Regions from separate parts of the Homo sapiens genome. Here regions 1, 3 and 4 are each linked to region 2. Evidence: promoter capture Hi-C in human tissues and cell types (Jung and others, 2019). All regions are on one chromosome and are shown on one strand. The core of a region is centred on a gene start or on the middle of the fragment in contact, and the rest is flanking DNA. Distances in the headings are between cores, read along the strand shown. Region 1 has its middle 25 kb from the start of NTMT2. Region 2 holds the start of PRRX1 (paired related homeobox 1). Region 3 overlaps KIFAP3 (kinesin associated protein 3). Region 4 overlaps KIFAP3 (kinesin associated protein 3).

Region 1 (2,797 bases), core at 91-2,590, 540 kb after region 2:
ACTTTTGAGACAAACCTAAAGCAATACAGCGTGCAATCCCTCATTTGTAATTCTGAATTACCGAAAGCTCTGAAAAACAATTTTTAGAAAATTTGACATGAAACCCTGACTCAATCTGATATGAGACAAACTATAGTCTTTATTAGCTTAATGTACGGATTGGTGCAAAAGTTATTGCGTTTTTGCCGTTACTTTGTAATTACTTTGTAATGGCAAAAACCGCAATAACTTTTGCACCAACCCAAGATATGACCAGAGTATTGGCACAGATACCATGGGAGATTTTTATAATATAGAGTTTATAAACCATATTGCCACTCTAAAATCTAAAATCAGTGAATTCTGAAACACATTTGACACCAAGGGTTTTGGATGATGGATTGTGATCCATGTAATGAATAATCTTAATTAAATACGTTGCTAAAAATGGTTGAAAAATAATGAACTAAACATTCTACATATAACAGCGGAAAATATAAAGATAAAAACAGAAATTAATATAATAAAAAACAAAGAAACAATAGAAAGAACCTAAAAATTAACAACTGATACTTTTAAAAGATTAATAAAACTGTCAAATTTCTGGAAATACTGATAAAGAAAAAACAGAAGTTGCAAATAGTATATCAAGAATAAAAAATGGGGCAAGACCACAGAGGCAATAGAGAATCTAAAATTTATATTTTGTGTCAATAATTTTGAAAACTTAGACAAAGGGACATATTAGAAAAATAAACACAAAAAATAAAGAAAAAACAGAAAACCTAAATATTCATTTTAACTGATCTTTTTTCTTGTCTTACCGGATAAATGAACAGATGTTTTGATAAGAGATATCCTGGTATTTTAAAAGGGAAAGCTTTTTAAGTGGTGCTGTTGGGATTCTCCAGAAAAACAGAATGAATAGATGTGTGTGTGTGTGTGTGTGTGTTTGTGTGTGTGTGTAAGTAAAAAGAGGTGATTTTAATGAATTGACTCACATGATTATGGAGACTGGCAAGTCCAAAATCTGGAAGGCAGGCCAGCAGGCTGGAGACCCAACGAAGAGCCAGTGCTACAGTTCAGTTCTGAAGGCTGTCGGCAGAACTCCCTCTTGGTCAGGTTGGTCTTTCATTCTATTCAGGCCTTTCACTGTTTGGACAAGGCTCACTCACATTACAGAGATAATCTGCTTTACTCAAGTCCACCAATTTAAATGTTAATCTCATCGAAAAACACTCTGACAGAAACCTCCAGAATAATGTTGGACCATCTATCTGGGCACCATGGCGCAGCCAAATTGACACATAAAATTAAGCATCACAGTTAACTGTGCAGGATTATGAAAGAGTGACATTATATAATGTATTTTATCAAGATGATTCTGGTTATTGATTGAAAATAGACTATATGGTGAGAATTGTAGACTCAGGGACACCAGAGAAGAGACTACTGCATTAATTCATATAAAAGAGAATGGAGGCTTGAACCATTTTTAGCATTTTTAGCAGTGGGGTAGTGAGAGTTCATTAGATTCCAGATATAGTTTGAAGGTAAAACTCGTGGGATTTCTTAACAGTGTGAATGTGGGATATTAAAAAAAAAGAAGAAGAAAGAAAAGAAAATAATCAAGAACAGTGTCAAGGCTCAGGGACCAAACCACTGGGAAAGCTGAATTTCCCTCAACTAACATAAAAAGCTGTTGGTAGAGCAGGTTTTGAGGAAACCTCAGGAGTTTAAGATGTCAGACATACAAATGGAGATGTTAAGTGAAATAAGCCAGGTACAGAAAGACAAATATCACATATTCTCACTTATCTGTGGGAGCTAAGAATTAAAATAATTGAACTCACAGAGATAGAGAGGAGAAGGATGGTTACCAGAGGCTGGGAAGGGTAGACAGAGTTGGGGTGGAAGGTTGCTGGGGAAGAGGCGATGGTTAATGGGTGCAAAAAATAGCCAGAAAGAATAAATAAGGCTGAGTATTTGCTAGCATAACAGGGTGACTATATTAAAAATTAATTTAATTGTTCAATTAAAAATAACTAAAAGAGTATAATTGGATTGTTGTAAACCAAAAGGATAAATGCTTAAGGTGATGGATACCCTATGTACCCTGATGTGATTATTACTCATTGCATACCTGCATCAAAATATCTCATGTAACTCATATATATGGTACATATGTGTGTGTGTGTGTGTGTGTGTATCTACTTTGTACTCACAAAAAATAAAAATTTGAAATTTTTTGAAAAAGAAGAGGAGATGTTGAGGAAGCAATTGGCTTCATAATTCTGGAGTTTAGAGGAAGCTTAGAGATATAAATTTAGGAGTTAGTAGCATACTAATGGAATTTAAATCCCCAAGACTGTTTGAAATTTAAAGAACTGAATTTAGATAGAGAAAAATAATCAAATAACCAAGGACCCTGATCACTCCAAAATTAAGAAGTCAAAATATCAATATTTTTCAGATTTGATAAATAATTTTAATAAAATTAAATTTTTATTGGAAATGCATTTTTTTTCTTTTAAGTTCAGGGGTACATGTGCATGTGTTTTATGGGTAAATTCATGTCACGGGAGTTTGTTGCACAGATGATTTCATCACTCAGACGTTAAGCCTAGTACCCATTCGTTATTTTTTCTGATCCTCTTCCTCCTCACACCCTCCATTCTGAGTTAGACCCCACTGTCTGTTGATGTCTTTTTGTGTCCTTGTGTTTTCATCATTTAGTTCTCTTATAAATGAGAACATGCAGTATTTGGTTTTCTGTTCCTGAGTTAGTTTGTTAAGAATAATGGCCAGCAGCTTCATC
Region 2 (2,700 bases), core at 191-2,690:
TTCCAAATTTGAAGACAAAAATGGTAACCAGCAACTACTGACATAGAAAGCAACCAGCCTCATTTGAGAACTTACAGCTAAGTTCAGACTCTTGCAACCTCGAGGAGAAGAGGGAGTATCTGTACATATCTGGCCACATGTCACCTGGGATGAACAGGGTGACCGGTCTGTTACAGACTTGGGGGCATGGGGATACAATTGCAGTCTCTTTTTAAGGCACTAGCGAAGCGAGATTTTCATGGGTCGCGAGGTTGGTCGGTGAGGATGGGGAAGGGAAACTGGACTTTTCTGGGCGTTTAAGAGCCAATAGGGAGAGCTCCTCTAAGGTGACACTGGCCTCCGCACTGAAGCTCGCGCCTCCCGGATGCAGCTCGCCTGTGCGGGATCATGCGGGGCTGGATTTCAGGTTTCACCCTTAAAGGACATTCCCTTTGCTTGGCCCGAGTTTTCCCAAGCCAGCCGGGCTTTTGACTCTGCCAGTCTCAAACCCATTTGCGGTAGAGGCAACAGCAGGGGGCAGAGAGCAGCTCCAGCGTCTGGGGCCGGGCGTTCTCTCGGGGCCTCCCGGTCGCGCCCGGCCTTACGGTGCCCGCGTGGAGAGTGCAGCCTGAGCAGCGCCAAGTCCTGCTCCCTGTGCCTGGTGCCCTCCCTCAAGCCGTCATACGCTGCCCGAGAGAAGCCCTTCCAACCCGACTCAGCATCTTTAACCTGCTGCTTTCCCAAACAGCGCTGGCTCTCTGAGTTTGCACCCCGCTAAGACCTTTTCCCAGCCCAGCCCCGCCGCCCCGCGTGCGGGATGAACCGAGCCGGTGCCTAGCCGAAGTAAAGAGAGTCCGCCGCGGACAGAGTCCCTGCCTGAGACCGCAGGGCCTCGGAGTGTCCCCGGACCTTGGAGCCTCTCTCCAGCGTCCTCCTTGGCTATGCCCTCGGCCGAGACCCGCTTTTCTCATCTGGTTTCCCCTGTGACTGGCCCTTCCTTTGAAGTCTGCCATCACCTCTCCTGGTCCCAGGACCTTGTCTTTCTGGCCGCGGACGGGCTCTAGCTGCCCTACACGGGTCCCCGCCCTCTGTCCCGGGCACACACCCCCGTGGGCATGCGCCCCTCACTCACTGTCCTGCTGCGGGGTGTCGCTGCCGCTGGTGAGTCCCGGCGACTCCAGCAGGCTCCGGCCAGCCTCGCCCACGTTCTCATCCGCCTGTGCCGCCACCATGTCCCCGGCTTCCTCCAGGTCTAGCAGGTGACTGACGGAGAAGTTCTTTTTCGCCTGCAGGGTGTCGAGGTTGCCCGGGCTGTCCAAGCGGCCGCCCAGCGCCGGTTGCCGCTCCAGAACGTGCCCGTAGCTGGAGGTCATGGTCTCCCCCACCGATCCCACCCACCCCCCTCTTCCCGCTCGAATCAACACCAAACGCTGTGGGCGCGAGGGGGGAGAGGAGCCGAGTGGGGAAGAAAGAGGGGGGTAGTGGAGAGAGAGAGAGAGAGAGGGAGGAAGAGGGAGGGAAGGAGAGGAAGGCCAAAAAAAAAAAATTGGAAAAGAGGGTGGGGGACCCCCTTCTGTAGAGCAGAGCGTTGTGCACCAGCCGCCTTCCGCAGCATTGGTTGATTTCCTGAGGCCAAGTCCGGCGCGGTCCAAAGAGATAATCCACAGTAAAATACAATATTAAAAAGTCACCCTATGTTCAAGTCAGGAGAAAAAAATCCCTTCCAACTCTCCAAAAGTGTCCACACGCACAGACTAAAAATAATAACAAGGGGGAGAGAGGAAAGCGGAGGCCAGCAGGGCGGGGGAGTTAGGCAAACAGAAGAAGAGAGAAGAAGGGGTGGGAGAGAAGAATCAAAGTGAATGGTTTTTTTAAAGGTTAAAAAAGTTATTCCCAGGCAAGAGTTCAAGCACCAACAGAAGAAGGCTTGTTCCAGCTTTAAAACATCTTCAAGAAAACGTGTTCCCCCCTCTCTGCACTCCTGTGGATTCTCAGGAGTGACTAAAGTTTCAGGAGGAGAGGGTGATGTCTTGCAGATGTATTAGAGAGCAGGATTCTCACTTTACTTTTTGTAAAGAGTAAAAAAAAAAATTAAGAATTAAAAAAAAAAGGCTTCAAGAGTCCGACGGAGGGTGCTGGTGGGTTCCCCCCTTTCCCCTTCTCTCTCTCCCCCTCTTCTTGCTGGGCTCCTTTTTCCTTCTCAGTTGGATCAAGAAGCTCTCTGGCACTTCAAAAGGCACAAACTGGCATGCAGAGGAGGCTTTGTAGGGAATACAAGAAAATTGGAGACCCCTGGGAGGGCAGATCTCGACTTAATAGGAGCCTGTAATTACGTGGCAAAGCCTTTGTGCTGTGCCTGACGTTTCACAGACCCCCTTTCTCCATCACAATCTCCTTCTTCCTCCTTTCCCTGGGACCAAAAAACAGTCTGATTAAGAAAACCCCCTTTGCCAACATCAGAGTTAGAGAGAAAGGGAGAGGGAGGGAACAAGAGAGAGGGAGGGAGAGAGGGAGGGAGGGAGGGAGGAAGGGAGAGAGAGAGAGAGAGAAAGAGAGAAGAGAAATGAGAGAGGGAAGAGAGCAAGAGAGCCCCTTTGGATTTCTAAAGGTCTAATTATCATTCCCCTGCAATAATATCACGGGGAGAAAAGACAAACTGAAACTCACAGTCACTTCAAACGTGCTGATTATTTTGCTTCGGCATTAACTCCTCCAGATTTG
Region 3 (2,700 bases), core at 199-2,698, 610 kb after region 2:
GCCTAAATTTCAGAACTTGTTATTGGTCTATTCAGCCATTTTACTTCTTCCTGGTTTAGTCTTGGGAGGGTGTATGTGTCCTGGAATTTATTCATTTCTTATAGATTTTCTGGTTTATTTGCTTCGAGGTGTTTGTAGTATTCTCTGATGGTAGTTTGTATTTCTGTGGGATCAGTGGTGGTATCCCCTTTATTATATTTTATTGTGTCAATTTGATTTTTCTGTCTTCTTTATTAATCTAGCTAGCAGTCTATTTTGTTAATTTTTTTGAAAAAACAGCTCCTAGATTCATTGATTTTTGGAAGAGTTTTTTGTGTCTTTATCTCCTTCATTTCTGCTCTGATCTTAGTTATTTCTTGTCTTCTGCTGGCTCTTGACTTTGTTTGCTCTTGCTTCTCTAGTTCTTTTAATTTTGATGTTAGGGTGTCAGTTTCAGATCTTTCCACCTTTCTGATGTGGGCATTTAGTGCTATAAATTTCCCTCTACACACTGCTTAAGCTGTGTCCCAGAGATTCTGGTATGTTGTCTCTTTGTTCTCATTGGTTTCAAAGAACTTCTTTACTTCTGCCTTAATTTTTTTATTTACCCAGCAGTCATTCAGGACCAGGTTGTTCAGTTTCCATGTAGTTATGTGGTTTTGAGTGAGTTTCTTAGTCCTGAGTTCTAATTTGATTGCACTGTGGTCTGAGAGACTGTTTGTTATGATTTCCATTCTTCTGCATTTGCTGAGGATTGTTTTACTCCCAATTATGTGGTCGATTTTAGAATAAGTGCCATGTGGCACTTAGAAAAATGTATATTCTGTTTATTTGGAGTAGAGAGTTCTGTGGATGTCTATTAGGTACACTTGATCCAGAGCTGAGTTCAAGTCCTGAATATCCTTGTTAATTTTCTGTCTCATTGATCTGCCTAATATTGACAGTGGGGTATTAAAGTCTCCCACTATTATTGTGTGGGAATCTAAGTCTCTTTGTAGTGTAGGTCTCTAAGAACTTGTTTTGTGAATCTGGGTGGTCCTGTATTGGGTGCATATATATTTAGGAGAGTTAGGTCTTTTTGTTGCATTGAACCCTTTACCATTATGTAATGCCCTTCTTTGTCTTTTTTGATCTTTGTTGGTTTAAAGTCTGTTTTATCAGAGACTAGAATTGCAATCCCTGCTTTTTTTTTTTTTTCCATTTGCTTGGTAAATATTCCTCCATTCCTTTATTTTGAGCCTGTGTCTTTGCATGTGAGATAGGTCTCCTGAATACAGCACACCAATGGGTCTTGACTCTTTATCCAATTTGCCAGTCTGTGTCTTTCAATTGAGGCATTTAGCCCATTCACATTTAAGGTTAATATTGTTATATGTGAATTTGATCCTGTCATCATGCTGGTAGCTGGTTATTTTGCACATTAGTTGATGTAGTTTCTTCAGTGTCATTGGTCGTTATATTTTGGTGTGTTTTTGCAGTGGCTGGTACTGGGTTTTCCTTTCCATATTTAATGCTTCCTTCAGGAGCTCTTTTAAGGCAGGCTTGGTTGTGACAGAATCCCTCAGCATTTGCTTGTCTGGAAAGGTTTTTATCTCTCCTTTGCTTATGAAGCTTAGTTTGGCTGGATATTAAATTCTGTGTTGAAAATTATTTTCCTTAAAATTGTTGAATATTGGTCCCCACTCTCTTCTGGCTTGTAGAATTTCTGCAGAGAGATCCGCTGTTAGTCTGACGGGCTTCCCTTTGTAGTTGACCTGACCTTTCTCTCTGGCTGCTCTTAACATTTTTTCCTTTGTTTCAACCTTGGAGAATCTGATGATTATGTGTCTTGGGATTTATCTTCTCGAGGAGTATCTTAGTGGTGTTCTCTGTATTTCCTGAATTTGAATGTTGGCCTGTCTTGCTAGGCTGGGGAGGCTCTCCTGGATAATATCCTGAAGTGTGTTTTCCAACTTGGTTCCATTCTCCCTGTCACTTTCAGGTACACCAGTCAATCATAGGTTTGATCTTTTCACATAGTCCCATATTTCTTGGAGGCTTTGTTTGTTCCTTTTCATTCTTTTTTCTCTAATCTTGTCTTCACGCCTTATTTCAGCAAGGTGATCTTCAATCTCTAATCTTTATTCTGCTTGATCGATTTGGCTATTGATACTTGTGTATGTGCTTCACGAAGTTTTCATGCTGTGTTTTTCAGCTCCATCAAGTCATTTATGTTTCTCTCTAAACTGGTTATTCTAGTTATCAGTTCCTGTAACCTTTTATCAAGGTTCTTAGCTTCCTTGCATTGGGTTAGAACATGCTCCTTTAACTCAGAGGAGTTTGTTATTACCCACCTTCTGATGCCTACTTCTGGCATTTCGTCAATCTCATTCTCCATCCAGTTTTGTGCCCTTGCTGGAGAGGACTTGCGATCATTTGGAGGAGAAGAGGTATTCTGGGTTTTGGGATTTTCAGCATTTTTGCGCTGGTTTTTTTCTCATTTTCATGGATTTATCCTTTGATCTTTGAGGCTGATGACCCTTGTATGGGTTTTTTTTGGGGGGGGGTGGTGTTTTTTGTTGATGTTGTTGTTGTTGCTCTCTGTGTGTTAGTTTTTGTATCAACAGCCAGGCACCTCTTCTGCAGGTCTGCTGCAGTGTGCTGCAATTCCACTCCAGACCCCGTCCTCCTGGGTATTACCAGTGGAAGCTGCTGAACAGCAAAGATTACTGCCTGCTCCTT
Region 4 (2,700 bases), core at 27-2,526, 710 kb after region 2:
GGGAAATGGTCCAGATGATTTATAAATTCTTTCCCTGCTTCTTCTTCATATGTCTTTGATAAATAAACACTGTCAAGTTATCTGGAGAAAGAGTAATACTTGATTAATGTATAAAAGGTGAACTTTTATCATTACCATTGTTTTCAATGATTTAAGTATAACAATATGTGGGATAAAACACGAAACAATATGACAGTGCCAAGTGGCATACTCTTCAGCCAGTTCTCATGGCTTTTCATTCTCTGTTTTCTTAATGTTTCAGTTTGAGTGGATTCATGTAATAAATAACAAATTGCTAATTTGTATGACACAAGGGTTTTTTTAATTGTTTAAAGAAAAATTATTTATTTCTTCATAAAATGACAAGGTTCAGTAATAGGATGAATGTATTAAAATCTGAGAAACTAAGCCAGATTTAGAGAAGAATTTAAATAGTTGAAATTGGTATTTTTCTTAAAATCCAAGTCAGGGGGTCCTTCTTAATCTGAATACCTTCATTTTTGTAAGATAGCAATGCAGTTTAATTGGAAACAGTGAAAACTGTTAAACTCATCTATCCCATTCTATAAGAAGACTGGATGTTTGATAAAATAGATATTGGCAGTTGGACAGTGAATCCTGGGTTTTAGACATGTGTCACTATCAGTTTGAACCTCTTGGCGCCAGGATTTCCCAACATTTAGAGCTAATGCAAAATGCATTAGGGCTCTAAGGCAATAGCTATGGAGTTGCCAATCCCAGAGCGTCAAATGTAAATCTTCCCCTCCCAAAATCTGAACTGGTGTTAGAAAGTAAAGTGGAACTTGCTTTTGAAGCTAATTAAAAATAATAGGAGCAAGACTAGCTTTTTTCCAGTTATGTATACCATGTATCTGCACCATATTTTTGGACCATTTTTTTATTATAACTTTTACTTTTCAAGACTAACAAGAACCGCATGTTAAGGGTATTTTTAAACTGCTTCCAGCTTTTACAAATCAGTTTTTGTTGCAGTAAAAATGGTCCATTTTTCTTTTATAGGAATCCAATTTTCATAAACTGGAAAAAAAATTGCAGAGACTGCTTAGGTTTCCTTGGGGCTTTGAAAAATATTTTTCAGAGAGCCTGGAGTTCTTCTTTGTGGTTGGCACAGTGATGTCATTTACTGACCATTTCAGTGGGGTCAAAGACAAACTAGATGTATGCATTATCTGAGCCATCTGACTCTTAAACTTTCATTTTCTATGTGTGTGTTATAGCCTGCCTCTTTTTCTTTTCTTAGAGTACTTTAATATTAACTTTTTTATGCATTATATGTATTATATATTACATATACATATGCCTTCTATTTTGGTCTCTTTTTTTTCAAATATTAAATCACAGTTGGATATTAGTTGTACTTTTAAAAATCATACTGAGGAGAACTAAAAAATTATTTCTTTAAAATATAAGAAATAATCTTTTACCCAAATTTTTAAATGTATGATTTTTTAATTCTAGAATTCTACATATAAAAAAATTAGACTTATTTGTTTAGCTGTAAGGCTGCCTTAATTATACTCAGCTATTTAGTTTACTGTTTTTTTCCCTTGAGAAAGCAACCTCAAAATTACATATTCTCTGTCTAAAAGGCATTGTGCAGTGTTTACAGAACTACATATTACTAGAACTGTATATTATGAGTTTGTTTCAAAGCAGTTATTCAGAAGAGAAACTAAGTTGTCTATTTTACAGCCCTTAATTTGGCCAAGCAAAAAATTCTTTTATATTGAGAGGAAAGTAAATATGCCTGCAAAATTCCTTCTTTGATAAGTCCTTTATCAATTTTTAATTAATAACCCAAACTCATTTGTTCTAATAATTTAAGTTCAATGATCTTCATTACTGTGGCCATAGCATAGCAATTAGATGGAAGGATCAAAAAAGTGAAAAGAACCTCTCAGAAGCATTTTCTTTGATAGACATTGACACCAACCATTTGTTCAGCATTGTAAGAACTAACCTAATTGCTAAAAACCTATAAAATCTTTTTAAAATAATCATTGACTAAAATACTGCTTCATTTAGTGTGTTATTACTTTTTTTTACCAAAGATGATCATAGTTTTTCTATTATTTATGAATTTCATATTACTTTTTCTCAGCAGAAAACATGCTTCATGAAGCCTTTCAAAAAAACTGACTTAGCCATTTTTCTAGACATGGTGTTTACAAAATAAAGCAGACATAACATTTTCACCTATCAATTGCCAAATAATTTCTAGTGCTAATACCCACACATCAAAGCAAAACAGCACTCCTAAACACCTGTTGTAGAATTTAATAAAACCTTTATGAAAGGCATTTGGTAATAAAGAACAAGAGCCTTAGATTGTTTACTTCCTTTTACTCTATAACTTTATTTCTAAGAATTTGTCCATATGAAATAATCAGAGATAAACATAAAGACTGATAAATAAGTTATTATGTGTCAAAGAAAATTGATACATTGAGGGTAGTGGAATAAACATTTTTACAACGTTATTTTTGTGCCATGAGATTTTTGTCTACATACTAGATTATATTACACTGGTTCTCTAAGTAAACTTTATATGTGAATGTTAAAATAAGTCAAAATAGATACATTTACTAATGAATATCCACCTTTCATAAACTTCTTCACTTTTTAAATGATTTACCACAGTGAACTTTTAATTTTCCTCTTCCTTATTAAAAATGTTTT

The links. Contacts are between HindIII fragments. The study calls those that stand out against the background at their distance.
Region 1: a fragment that was not itself captured here is called in contact with the fragment with the promoter of PRRX1 in region 2 in 3 of the 25 tissues and cell types used here (bladder, heart right ventricle and liver).
Region 3: a fragment that was not itself captured here is called in contact with the fragment with the promoter of PRRX1 in region 2 in 2 of the 25 tissues and cell types used here (aorta and mesenchymal stem cells).
Region 4: a contact is called between a fragment that was not itself captured here and the fragment with the promoter of PRRX1 in region 2, in 2 of the 25 tissues and cell types used here (IMR-90 fibroblasts and mesendoderm cells).

Annotation. Positions count from the first base shown.
Region 1 is chr1:170,119,967-170,122,763 of GRCh38, reverse strand. No RefSeq gene overlaps it. Among named protein-coding and RNA genes, the nearest start is that of NTMT2, 25 kb to the left of the region's middle. The HindIII fragment of the contact is 6,375 bases long and covers 1-2,797 here.
Region 2 is chr1:170,662,871-170,665,570 of GRCh38, reverse strand. PRRX1 (paired related homeobox 1) reads right to left here and starts at 1,440. Exons shown (of 4, transcript NM_022716.4): 1 at 1,112-1,440. The coding sequence starts at 1,352. RefSeq lists enhancers at 1-807, 2,008-2,535. The HindIII fragment of the contact is 17,405 bases long and covers 1-2,700 here.
Region 3 is chr1:170,049,636-170,052,335 of GRCh38, reverse strand. All of the region lies in intron 2 of KIFAP3 (kinesin associated protein 3), which reads left to right. Among named protein-coding and RNA genes, the nearest start is that of KIFAP3, 24 kb to the left of the region's middle. The HindIII fragment of the contact is 4,078 bases long and covers 1-2,700 here.
Region 4 is chr1:169,947,792-169,950,491 of GRCh38, reverse strand. The region is part of intron 19 of KIFAP3 (kinesin associated protein 3); the gene reads left to right. Among named protein-coding and RNA genes, the nearest start is that of SCYL3, 55 kb to the right of the region's middle. The HindIII fragment of the contact is 6,764 bases long and covers 1-2,700 here.